Regions from separate parts of the Homo sapiens genome. Here all the other regions are linked to region 3. Evidence: promoter capture Hi-C in 16 types of primary human blood cells and fetal thymus (Javierre and others, 2016). All regions are on one chromosome and are shown on one strand. The core of a region is centred on a gene start or on the middle of the fragment in contact, and the rest is flanking DNA. Distances in the headings are between cores, read along the strand shown.

Evidence for each region. The method cuts DNA at HindIII sites, captures the fragments that hold promoters and counts their contacts. A CHiCAGO score of 5 or more calls a contact.
Region 1: a contact is called between a fragment that was not itself captured here and the fragment with the promoter of HSPB7 in region 3, in 1 of 17 cell types (activated CD4 T cells). The highest score is 5.4, in activated CD4 T cells.
Region 2: a fragment that was not itself captured here is called in contact with the fragment with the promoter of HSPB7 in region 3 in 1 of 17 cell types (activated CD4 T cells); the score reaches 5.5 in activated CD4 T cells.
Region 4: a contact is called between a fragment that was not itself captured here and the fragment with the promoter of HSPB7 in region 3, in 1 of 17 cell types (activated CD4 T cells). The highest score is 6.0, in activated CD4 T cells.

What each region holds. Positions count from the first base shown.
Region 1 is chr1:15,938,397-15,941,096 of GRCh38, reverse strand. It overlaps SPEN (spen family transcriptional repressor), which reads right to left. Exons shown (of 15, transcript NM_015001.3): 14 at 2,221-2,379; 15 at 641-1,801. The coding sequence ends at 1,670. Among named protein-coding and RNA genes, the nearest start is that of ZBTB17, 36 kb to the left of the region's middle. The HindIII fragment of the contact is 2,230 bases long and covers 305-2,534 here.
Region 2 is chr1:15,900,398-15,903,097 of GRCh38, reverse strand. The region is part of intron 3 of SPEN (spen family transcriptional repressor); the gene reads right to left. Among named protein-coding and RNA genes, the nearest start is that of SPEN-AS1, 54 kb to the right of the region's middle. The HindIII fragment of the contact is 9,385 bases long and covers 1-2,700 here.
Region 3 is chr1:16,016,619-16,019,318 of GRCh38, reverse strand. It overlaps HSPB7 (heat shock protein family B (small) member 7), which reads left to right and starts at 1,276. Exons shown (of 3, transcript NM_014424.5): 1 at 1,276-1,554; 2 at 2,112-2,245. The coding sequence starts at 1,356. RefSeq lists enhancers at 983-1,727, 1,728-2,474. The HindIII fragment of the contact is 15,911 bases long and covers 1-2,700 here.
Region 4 is chr1:15,920,746-15,923,445 of GRCh38, reverse strand. SPEN (spen family transcriptional repressor) reads right to left here. Exons shown (of 15, transcript NM_015001.3): 9 at 2,463-2,576; 10 at 1,097-1,197. Among named protein-coding and RNA genes, the nearest start is that of ZBTB17, 54 kb to the left of the region's middle. The HindIII fragment of the contact is 4,084 bases long and covers 1-2,700 here.

The sequences.
Region 1 (2,700 bases), core at 170-2,669, 78 kb after region 3:
CCCACCGTTCAGAGGGGGATGCTATCTTCTCACACCAGGACAGGCCCATTTGTAGGAGCCCATTGGTATTCCAAGTGAGACCACCAACTTTATAGTCCCCATGTCCCTGTCCCAACTCCACAGCTTCTAGAGAATCCAGCTGCAGGGGAAGCCTGTCCCCAACTCCCATTCTCCTGTCTGGAGGCAGAGACGGGATCAAATGAGCCCCCAGGGGCCCCAGGAGGCCACTGCCTCTGCAGGAGTCAGCCTGCTTCACACTGGGAGAAGGGAAGAGGGGGCAAGAGAGAGACAAGAAACCAAAGCTTGCTAAAATGTTTCTGAGATGGCATGGGGTGTGGTTATATTCTGTATCAAAATTGGAAGTGCCTTCCTTCCACATTACCTAAGAACCAGTTAGGACTCTGAAGACACCACAAGAGTGAGAAATGGTTAAGTTCAGTGTCCGTGACAAAAATCTCCTTTGTACAAGATAAAATTATCCTTGGGGAGGAGGACTGACTGACTAGGAGGCAGAAGGGAAACAGTTCCCATGTACAGACTTGGCATGGGGATCAAAAGCGGGATGAGGGCTGACTGTTCCCATAAGCCAAGGACCCATGGTTCGTCCTCCCACCCAAGTGACAATCACACTCACACTTGGTGTGTTTTATATTTTTTAATAAAGTTTGTAATCCAATGGACACACAAAACAAAACTGCGCTGAGAAAAACAGTTTCATAAATTAATAAGTGTTAGGAAGTTGGGGGAAGAGATCAAGGTAATAGGAAGAGGGGTTAGCCAGTCTTTTTGTACAGGTGCCGTGTGACACTTCCACATCGCGGGAGCAGGACCCGTGCTGTACCGAAGCGCACTTATACAAATGAGTGGGCAATACAAAGTCTGAATATGAAAATAAGATTTCCTCTGAAAACACATTTTTGGCACAGATTAAAAAAAACGTATGTCGGGGGATTTGATTTTTTAAGTCAGTATTATATATATTTATATATATTATATATTTATATATACACACATCCCAAGTTCTGCATATCCCACCAAGAGAAAACCTTTCTGTTTGCTCTTCAACTGTAAACTGTACATCCCGGTGAATCAAAGACGGTGGCAGCAGGAGAATTAAGGTGACGCATCCAAATGAGCAAGGGAGATGGGGGTGGACAAAAAAAACCAATGAAATGTTCCTTGACCCCAAGGTCTCAGCAGAAGTTTGAAGTCCTTCCTGCGTTAAGAGTCTGCAATGTGTGTCTACACACACCAAGACATCCAGAGTGTCACAGCCTGTCTTCACTGGGCAAAAGTCCAAGTCACTAATTTAGTGCAAAGGCAGTTCTGTTTTCTTGTTTCTTAAAAACAAACAAACAAAAAATTTTCATTCCACTGCCCTGTTCCTTTTCTCCAAAAAGAGGAAAGAGAAACCCAGCCCCGGTGTCTGCGAGTCCATGGGTTGGTGATGTGTCCTTGGGCTAAAGCATTATGTAAACATACAAGGTAGCAGCACCACTCCTAGAGGAAGTCTGGCCGACTGAGCCGGGCGGCAGGACAGCAAACGGCTGGCCGTCTGGCAGTGGAGTCTGTCCCCTTCGGCAGCTTCTTCCTCTGCTTGGCTGGGTTGTCCTTTGTTTTTACTGCAGAGCCCTGGGAAGATTCACTGAGGTGATAACCACTCAGTGGCTCACACGGAGGCAATGACAATCATGAGGTGGGGAGAGATGTTGGAGATGCTGGCAAGGAGGTCAGGGGCCAGGCGGGACAGGTGACTCTCAGAGAACTCACAGGGCGGGAAGATCTGCAGCACGTAGGCAGGCTGGAGACAGGATAGAGAGCAAAGTGGGACCGTCTGTCTTCACCCCCACAACTCCACTTCCATTGGGGAGCCCTGAAGAGGCCCAATGCTAAGAGCCAGGCCAAATCAGTCCCCAACCAGCAAATGTGCCAGGACTATGTCTACTGGAAGACCTAGCAGGTGTCAGAAAACTATAAACAGGAACCCCCTGGGGCCCTATCTTTAAACTCATGGAAAACCTGTGTTCTCAGCGGTTCCCTGGGTTCTCTTCAGGATGGGTGATGGCGCCCCGCCCCATGTGCTCTACTGACTTCTGTCCAAAATGCCCCTTTGCCCACCTCTGGGGCCAGATCTAGTGGGCACCAGATGAGTAGGCCCACCTACCCTGATCAGCCCCACCTGTGGGTGTACATGTGAAGGAAGGACACAGGACAACCGACCTGATTGGAGCCAGGGTTGGGAACGTTGATGATCCCTGCCGCCTGCTTGGCCTGCAGGTAAGTGATGAAGGCAGCCTTGAGGGACTCGGTCTGGCTCACAACATCCTCTTGGTCACGGCCACAGGGCAGAGCCAGCAGCAGACAGTAATCTGTCTCCACCTGAGGCAGAGGCCAGCTGCCAGTGAGCAGGGGCCTCCTAGTCAAACAGCAGCCCACATCCAACCCACAGTATCAGGTCCACAAAAACCCCCACCTCTGAGATGACTTTAAAGGCTACCCTGATATTTGAATGAAAAAAAAAAAAAAAAAAAGCTTTTTTTCAACCTGAGAAAGCTGATTTAAAAAATAATAATTTTTAAAAACTGTAAAGCCTTGTTTCTGGGTCTAGAGGTACTTTACATCCCCCCACCAAGTAGAAGCATAGTGGACCCTTCATTGCTCACTTCAAGAATACCGTTACTGGCCAGGCACAGTGGCTCA
Region 2 (2,700 bases), core at 115-2,614, 120 kb after region 3:
ATGCTATTTATAAGATGACTCAGGGATATATTTGTTAACGTACAAGAGTGACATCCAGTTACTGACTTCTGTATCCCTCTATTATTTGTAAACATTCACTTACGGCAAATATGCATCTATACTGGTTTTTTTTTTAAAGCTGGAAGACTAAAAGACATTTAACCAAATTAAGTTGAGAAACAAAACTCTGGCATAAACCAATATTTTCAGAAAGGAGCGATTAGGGCAATTAGAAAACACTGCAACTAACATAGTTAGAGGGCCCATTTGTCATAACCAGGTATCTCCCTAACCATCAGGTAGCTAATAATTTTTCTCTCCATATAATCAATATATAATTTGGGGTCAAAAGAAAAGATTTTCAATCAGGTTTGGGTGCCCACTGGTCCTTATCTAATTTCTATTAGAATAATCATCTATTTTATTTTAACTTTTATTTATTTTATTTTTTGTAGAGACGGGGTCTTACTTTGTTGCCCAGGCTGATCTCCAATTCCTGGGCTCAAACGACCTTCCCACCTCGGCCTCCAAAAGTGCAGATTATAGGCGTGAGCCACCATTCCTGGCCCATAATCTCTTAAACAGAATGCATCACCACAGCAAGTAATAATACTTCCACATCTCATTTTTTTTATAAGTCCAAATTGTATCTTTCTAGTGCAGCAGTTATCTAAGTGTAAGAGGACCTGTGAGGACCCAAAATCCTTTTAGGAGATCTGTGAGACCTTCCCTATTTCAACTGTGTATCTGTGTGAGGCCAAATTTTCTTCATATACTTCACCCAAAAAACCTTATAATCACAGTTTGAATACAGAATTGGTTATGAGAATCTAACTATCTTACTAAACCAGACGTTTAAAAGATTTTCAGGCCGGGCACAGTGGCTCACGCCTGTAATCCCAGCACTTTGGGAGGCTGAGGCAGGAAGATCACTTGAGGTCAGGAGTTTGAGATCAGCCTGGCCAACATGGCGAAACCCTAACTCTGCTAAAAATACAAATATTAGCGGGGCGTGGTGGCACATGCCTGTAGTCCCAGCTACTTGGGAGGCTAAGGCATGAGAATCGTTTGAACCTGGGAAGTGGAGGTTGCAGCGAGCCGAAATCATGCCACTGCATTCTAGCCTGGGTGACAGAGTAAGACTGTCTCAAAAAAAAAAAAAAAAAAAACTAAATAAATAAGTAAAAAATAAAAGGTTTTCAAAAAATAAAACGTCATTCTCACTAAAATAAAAATTTTAAAGTTTAAATTTCAATACGGCAAATGTCAATAGATACTGTCCACAATAAATGAAAGCCCAATAATTTTAAAATGTAAAGTCAAGCCTAGAAAGTTTTAAAAACAGTTCAGCAGTCTGATGTGACACCATTACCATTTTCAACTCCACCACTTCTGATGTAATCTGAATTTAAGCCTCTTTTGTTGGTGTTTTTTTTTTTTTTTTTTTTGAGATGGAGTCTCACTTTGTCACCCAGGCTGGAGTGCAGTGGCGTGATCTCGGCTCACTGCAACTTCCGATCCCCAGGTTCAAATGATCCCCCCAACTCAGCCTTCTGGGTAGCTGGGACCACAGACCACACGTATGAACCACCACGCCCAGCTATTTTTTTTGTTTGCATTTTTAGTAGAGACAGGGTCTTGCCATGTTGTCTAGGGTGGTCTCGAACTTCTGAGCTCAAGCAATCTGCTGACCTCGGCCTCCTGGCTCATTACAGGCATGAGCCACCACGCCCAGCCTATTTTTTTTTTATTTTTATTTTTTATTTTTTTATTTTTTTTTACCAGACAGAGTCTCTACTCTTTCGCTCAGGCTGGAGTACAGCGGCGCAATCTTGGCTCACTGAAACCCCTGCCTCCCAGGTTCTAGCAATTCTGCTGCCTCAGCCGCCCCTACACCTTTTTTTTTTTTAAGGGACGAGGTATTACTATGTTGCCCAGGCTGGCCTCAAACTCCTGGGCTCAAACGTCCTCCCGTCTCAGTCACCCTAGAAGAAGCTGGAACTACATGCATACACCACCACACCTGACTCAAGCCTCTATTTTTTTTTTACTCCAAAAAATAACAAGGAAATAATCAACTGAGTGACCTGCCAAGACACTTCATTTTGCCTCTCTTAACTTGAATTTCCCTAGCGGTTAGCAGACCTCATGATCTTTCAAGGACCCTACTAGTTTTAGCAGGGTTCTACAACATTTTTGTTGTCACAGTGGGGGTGGGGTGGGGTAGGGTTACTGGCATCTACCAAGTACCCTACAGTGCACAGGAAAGTCCCAACAAAGAGTTCTCTGGTCTCAAATGTGAATAGTGCCAAGACTGAGAAACCCTGGCCTGTATTATTTCTTGGACTGCTTTCCCATCTTTTGAAAAACCAACATGCTAATTTCAAGCTGCAATCCAAACGCAGGATCCTTAACATTGATTATTCTTCCTCATTACTAATGTATCATTTCATAAAAATCTTTGAATTGTAAGAAAAAAATGTAAACTTCTGAAAATCAAACTTCCTCAAGAAGAAGCTGAGATCTAAAACACTCTGGTGTCACTTGATTTTGGACAACCTGATAAAAAGGTAAAGTATAAACAACTTTTTTACAATATTAACTTCACCATTCAAAACCAAGGTCACTACTTTATAGACAAAACCATTTTATAATTTTTAAACAAGTAGTAAGTAAAATATATACAATATTGCTTACTCA
Region 3 (2,700 bases), core at 27-2,526:
ACTGGGTGTGGGCCCATGTGAGCAGGAGCAGTCAGAGAGGCCTCCCTGGGGGAGGAGGCATTGGAGCTGATCTGGGACGGAAGGGACGGATTTGGAGAGGACAGCAGAGGCCCTTAACTGCAACCTGGGCAGAGCAGAGGGCCTGGCCGCCTCTCAGAATGGCCTCCACCCTGGCCCAGGGCAAGGTCAGTCCCAGCTTTGCTGAGCAAGCAGGTGGGTAGGGAGGGGCTTCTCTGGCTCTTCCGGGCCAGCCTGTCTCCATAGGCACATGTTCAAACCACCTCGGCCTCTGAAGGGCTTTGGGTCCAACACATCTAGGTTCGAATCCCAGCTCTGCCACTTACGCAACTGCGAGCCCCGCCCTTTCCAAGAGGCTTCGCTTCCCCGTCCGTAACATGGGAAGAGCCCCTCCACCCTCCCAGCTGTGTGGGGATCAAACGGGGCCGTGCTGGACAGCTTGCAGCCAGGAGCCCATGCCCAGAAGGCATTCTAGAACTCAGGGCTAGAATAATTGTCTTCCGGAATTCTCTTTTACCTCTGACTGAAATCCCACCTAAGGCGCTCGCAGGCATCACCTCTGACACAGAGATGGAGCAGACAGTTGCCGGGAACACAACCTTCTAGACCTTTAAGGAGAAAGCTGCCAACTTTGTCCTCTTGGGGCTGCTGAATGTTCTGAGAGTCAGAGGGAGTGCAGGCACAGAATCCAGGTCCCCATGGGGGCTGGCAGGGGACAGCTGCACATTTTACACCCCCTGGCAGGGCTCAACCTTTCCTTAGAGATGGGCTGTGAAGGTTGTCTGCCTTGAGGGAAGGAGCTCCTGACGTCACAGAGCGGTGGTGCTTCCACCTACCCTGTCCCCAAGGAGCCTGCACACTGATGGAGGAGGTACAGCCGTGGAGGAGAACCAGAGTCTGGAGGGGAGGCACAGTCCTCAGGAGCCCCCAGGCTGACGGGGGAAACAAAACACACAATAAACCCCAAACTTGCAAGGTTCTGGGGCAGGCACCGAGGTCCGAGTGGCAAGGAGACAGGATCCAGCCCTGTGCAGTGGTGAGGAGGCCCCTGGGGCTGCTGTGATCAGCCTGGAATGTCAGGCTGTGAGCTCAGCCCTCTCGGCCTGCGTGTCGGGCTGTCAGCAGGGCCGGCGCACGGGAGAAGATTTCCAGCCCCCTCTGGGCCATGGAGAGGCCTAAATTTAGCTAGTAGACAAGGGGCTGGCCCCAAGCCCAGGGACAGTCGGCCTTATAAAGCGGCCGCAGTCGGAGCCTGGCACGCTCGCCCAGAGGCCTGCGCCCACACCCTCTCCTGTCCAGCCCTCGCCCGCCTGGGCAGGGCCCGGCGCCGTCCGTGGATGAGCCACAGAACCTCTTCCACCTTCCGAGCGGAGAGAAGTTTCCATTCCTCTTCCTCTTCCTCCTCCTCTTCCACCTCCTCCTCGGCCTCCCGTGCTCTCCCGGCCCAGGACCCGCCCATGGAGAAGGCCCTGAGCATGTTTTCCGATGACTTTGGCAGCTTCATGCGGCCCCACTCGGAGCCCCTGGCCTTCCCAGGCAAGTGATCCGGGCCCTGAGGGGAGGGGAGGTGCACAGGGAGGGGACGTCTGCTCCAGGGCGCCACCGAAGGCGCTGTGGCTGCCGGTCGGCCTGGAACAGGTGCTGCACAGCCTGCAGCCATGTGTGGCCACCAAGACAGATGTGGCCACAGGGACAGATGTGGCCATGAAAACAGGTGGGCCTCTAAGGAACAGTTGTGGCCCTGGGGGTTGGACATGGTTCCATGGCCACCCATGCTCTGTAACCACAGCCAATCCCAGCTGGAGCCCTGGAGGGCTGGATGGGTGAGCGGTGGGGGGCAGCCCCCAGGCTCCAGGCCTGGGGTGGGGTTGTTACAGACCTAGCCTCATATACACACACACTGTGCTGGGTGAGGCCCCACCCCCACCCCAGAAAAGGTGGGCTGTAGGAATGAGGAGGAGCTTAGGGAGAAACAGCTAGGGGGGAGGTAGGGCCTGGGGGAGCCGCCCCTTGCCCCAAGAGAAGGAGCCAGAACCCCCGGATCTGCATGCAAGGCCTGCTCCATGCCTCGCTCACAGCAGCCCATCCCACAGCCCGCCCCGGTGGGGCAGGCAACATCAAGACCCTAGGAGACGCCTATGAGTTTGCGGTGGACGTGAGAGACTTCTCACCTGAAGACATCATTGTCACCACCTCCAACAACCACATCGAGGTGCGGGCTGAGAAGGTGAGCCCCCCACCCCCTACTCACCGCATCCCAAATTCTGCTCCTGCCTCCAATGTCTCCTACTCCCCCTTACCATCCTGGGACCCCAGACCCTGGCCAGTGTCCCTTCCCCACCCAAACTCCCCCAGGGCTAACTGAAGGCCTTGTCCCTGCAACCCATGGCCATGGGGCCCCCTCACTGCCTCTCTTTGCACCGAGGTTCCCAGATCCTTTCTTCCAGGGCCTGAGCAGCTGAGGGAGCCTCCGAGGAATGGGAGAGGGATGGAGGGATGTGGGCAGAGGGAGCCTGAGGGGGTGGGGCTTGAGGGTGGGAGATGACAGGTGTGAGATGGTGATGGCAGAGTGAGGACAGCTCCTCTGGTAGCTATAGGGGGGCGGATGCGGGTAGGTGGGGAACTCACCTGGGCAGTGGGGGGAGGGGTTTCTCCATGTGACCCACCTCAAGCCCTCTTCCC
Region 4 (2,700 bases), core at 166-2,665, 96 kb after region 3:
CTAACACATATAGGGGTGGAGACCTAGTGGGAACATTCCAGGAAACTTAATCAGAGGTATGTCTGGAAAAACAGCTTGATAATATGGACCAAATTTCCATTTTCAAAAGTAATCAGCTATTGAAGAATCTGGTGGCATTATCTTAAGATGTTTTACTATATTTCGGTCTGTTCAGCAGAAAAAATATTAAATACTACATAACCATGACTGAAAGTATTAACAAGAGGAAATCAGGTTTGCCCTGCACATTGCCAAAGTTGCCAGTTTACATATGCTTTGGCTTATTGATTCACTTTGACTATTTAAGAGATTCAACTTTAAAATAAAGCTCTTGATATTCTTTTGGAAGTTTTTATTTATTTATTTATTTTTTAAGTTAAATGTATGAGCACATACAACCTGGTTGTTGTCATTACTAAATATGTAGCCATTTAAAAGTTTATAATGCACTCTAACATATATTAATACATTTACTTTAAGAAGTAACTGTAAGCAAGATGATTTGTATTTATGATTAATGGTACATAAAGCAGACCAGGTGTGGTGGCTCACACCTGTAATCCCAGCGCTTTGGGAGGCCAAAGCGGGCAGAATGCTTGAGCCCAGGAGTTCAAGACCAGCCTAGACAACATGGAGAAAACCCATCTTTACAAAAATTACTCCAGCGTGGTGGCAAGTGTCTGTAGTCCCAGCTAATCAAGAAGATGATGTGTGAGGATCACTTGAGCCTATAAGGCAGAGACTGCAGTGAGCCATGATCATGCCACTGCACTCCAGTCTGGGTGACAGAGTGAGACCCTGTCTCAAAAAAAAAAGTACATAAAGTTATCACCTGGCAAAACAGTAACTCTTTCAAGTTCTAGGAGCATTCAGTGAGAAATCCAGACAGGTTGCTCCAAACCCATAGGAATTACCTGGAAACTAGATTCAAAAAAATAAACCTGTGTTTCCATATGAAGTGATAAAAGAGAAGCATTCTCTATTCTAGAAGATGAAAGTAGGGGTAAAGAGTGAAAAATAAAATTTAATGCCATCTTAAGTTTCTGTATTAAAACTATTAAAACTCAAGCTACACTGGTAAGTTTAAAATACATACCTTCTTTCGGCTAACATTTCATAAAAGTCTCTGATGTCTTGACCAGATTTCTCCATGCAGTGATAAAAAGCCAGCTGACTTTCCCGATTTGCAAAATCCACCTTTAAAAAAAAAAAGAGGTGTTTGATGCAAGTTTCAAATTTTAATGATGGAAAAATGTTATCAGATTTGTAAATTCTTCACAACATAGCCCTTCTGAGAAAATTTCAGGAAACAGCAATGTATCTCAAGTAAAACAGTCCTCATCACTGAAACTATATTAACCTGAAATCTCTCAAATTCTGTATAAACCGTGATAAAAGAATGAAATTTATAAAGTTTCAAACCCAATTGTGAAGGAGTGAAAAAAGCAAAATGGAAAACTGAAATGGCAATTAAGTAATCAGATCAACTAAATCCAGCAATCTCTGTTGCCAAAACTACAGTTAGAATATAAAACAAAATATGGATGAACATTTTAAACTTTATTCACAGCTGGGCCTCAAAGTTACTAAAGCATATGATGCTCATCAGCTATCAAATAGCTTATCATCTTATTTTTAAAATACTTTTTTCAACCTAACAATCATAGTTATTTCATAGTTAAGTGCATAAATTCCTTCAAACTACCATGAATACAAGTTTTTAAAAACATACACTGGACATAAAGTTATGCTTTAAGTGGCTACCCACTCTTCAGGAGAGTAGGAAAGGAAAGAAAGACATATCATTCAGGATGCTGGACTGATACTATGAGGCCCTGGGTGTCAGATACCCATAACTGTGGTCAAGCCTGCGATGAGAGTGTCTGTGTGAGCATCAGCACCCGAACACTGAGAAGCACACTTCTTTGAATGAGAAGATTTTTAGGGAAGGATCTGTGGCTAATGGTTTAAAGATGCTGTGCCCACAAGTAGCTGAGCATAAAATTGTAATATTCCCCTTAAACACTAATGATACAGCATACGTGTCTTGTAAACCACTCCCCTGGCTGGCAGCCTACAAAATGCTAGTTATTAACGGGGTGATTTCTTTTTTTTGGAGATGGAGTCTTACTCTGTCACCCAGGCTGGAGTGCAACGGCATGATCTCAGCACACTGCAACCTCCGCCTCCTGGGTTCAAGCAATTCTCCTGCCTCAGCCTCCCAAGTAGCTGGGATTAACAGGCACGCGCCACCAAGCCCGGCTAATTTTTCTTGTATTTTTAGTAGAGACGTGGTTTCACCATGTTCATCAGGCTGGTCTCGAACTCCTGACCTCAGGTGATCCACCTGCCTTGGCCTCCCAAAGTGCTGGGATTACAGGCGTGAGCCACCACGCCCAGCCCAAGAGGGTGAGATTTGAATAGGACTTTGTTTTGCTTCTGTTTAAAGTCATTCTGCACACCTTAATTTTATTCCCACCGATTTTCCTCCCTTTGGTCTCTTTTACAGCTGCTTGTGCATATTCAATTTCATTGTAGAGAACCAGGGCCATGCCTTTTAAGCGGTCAAACACCACCTGTAAAACAAACAAACAAAAAACAAGTAAGAGCCTCATCCACTGGACTTAGTGTCAGTCCCAACAAAATCCTAAGCCACAAGGACACGGATGAGAAAAAATATATTTTTATATATTTTATTCT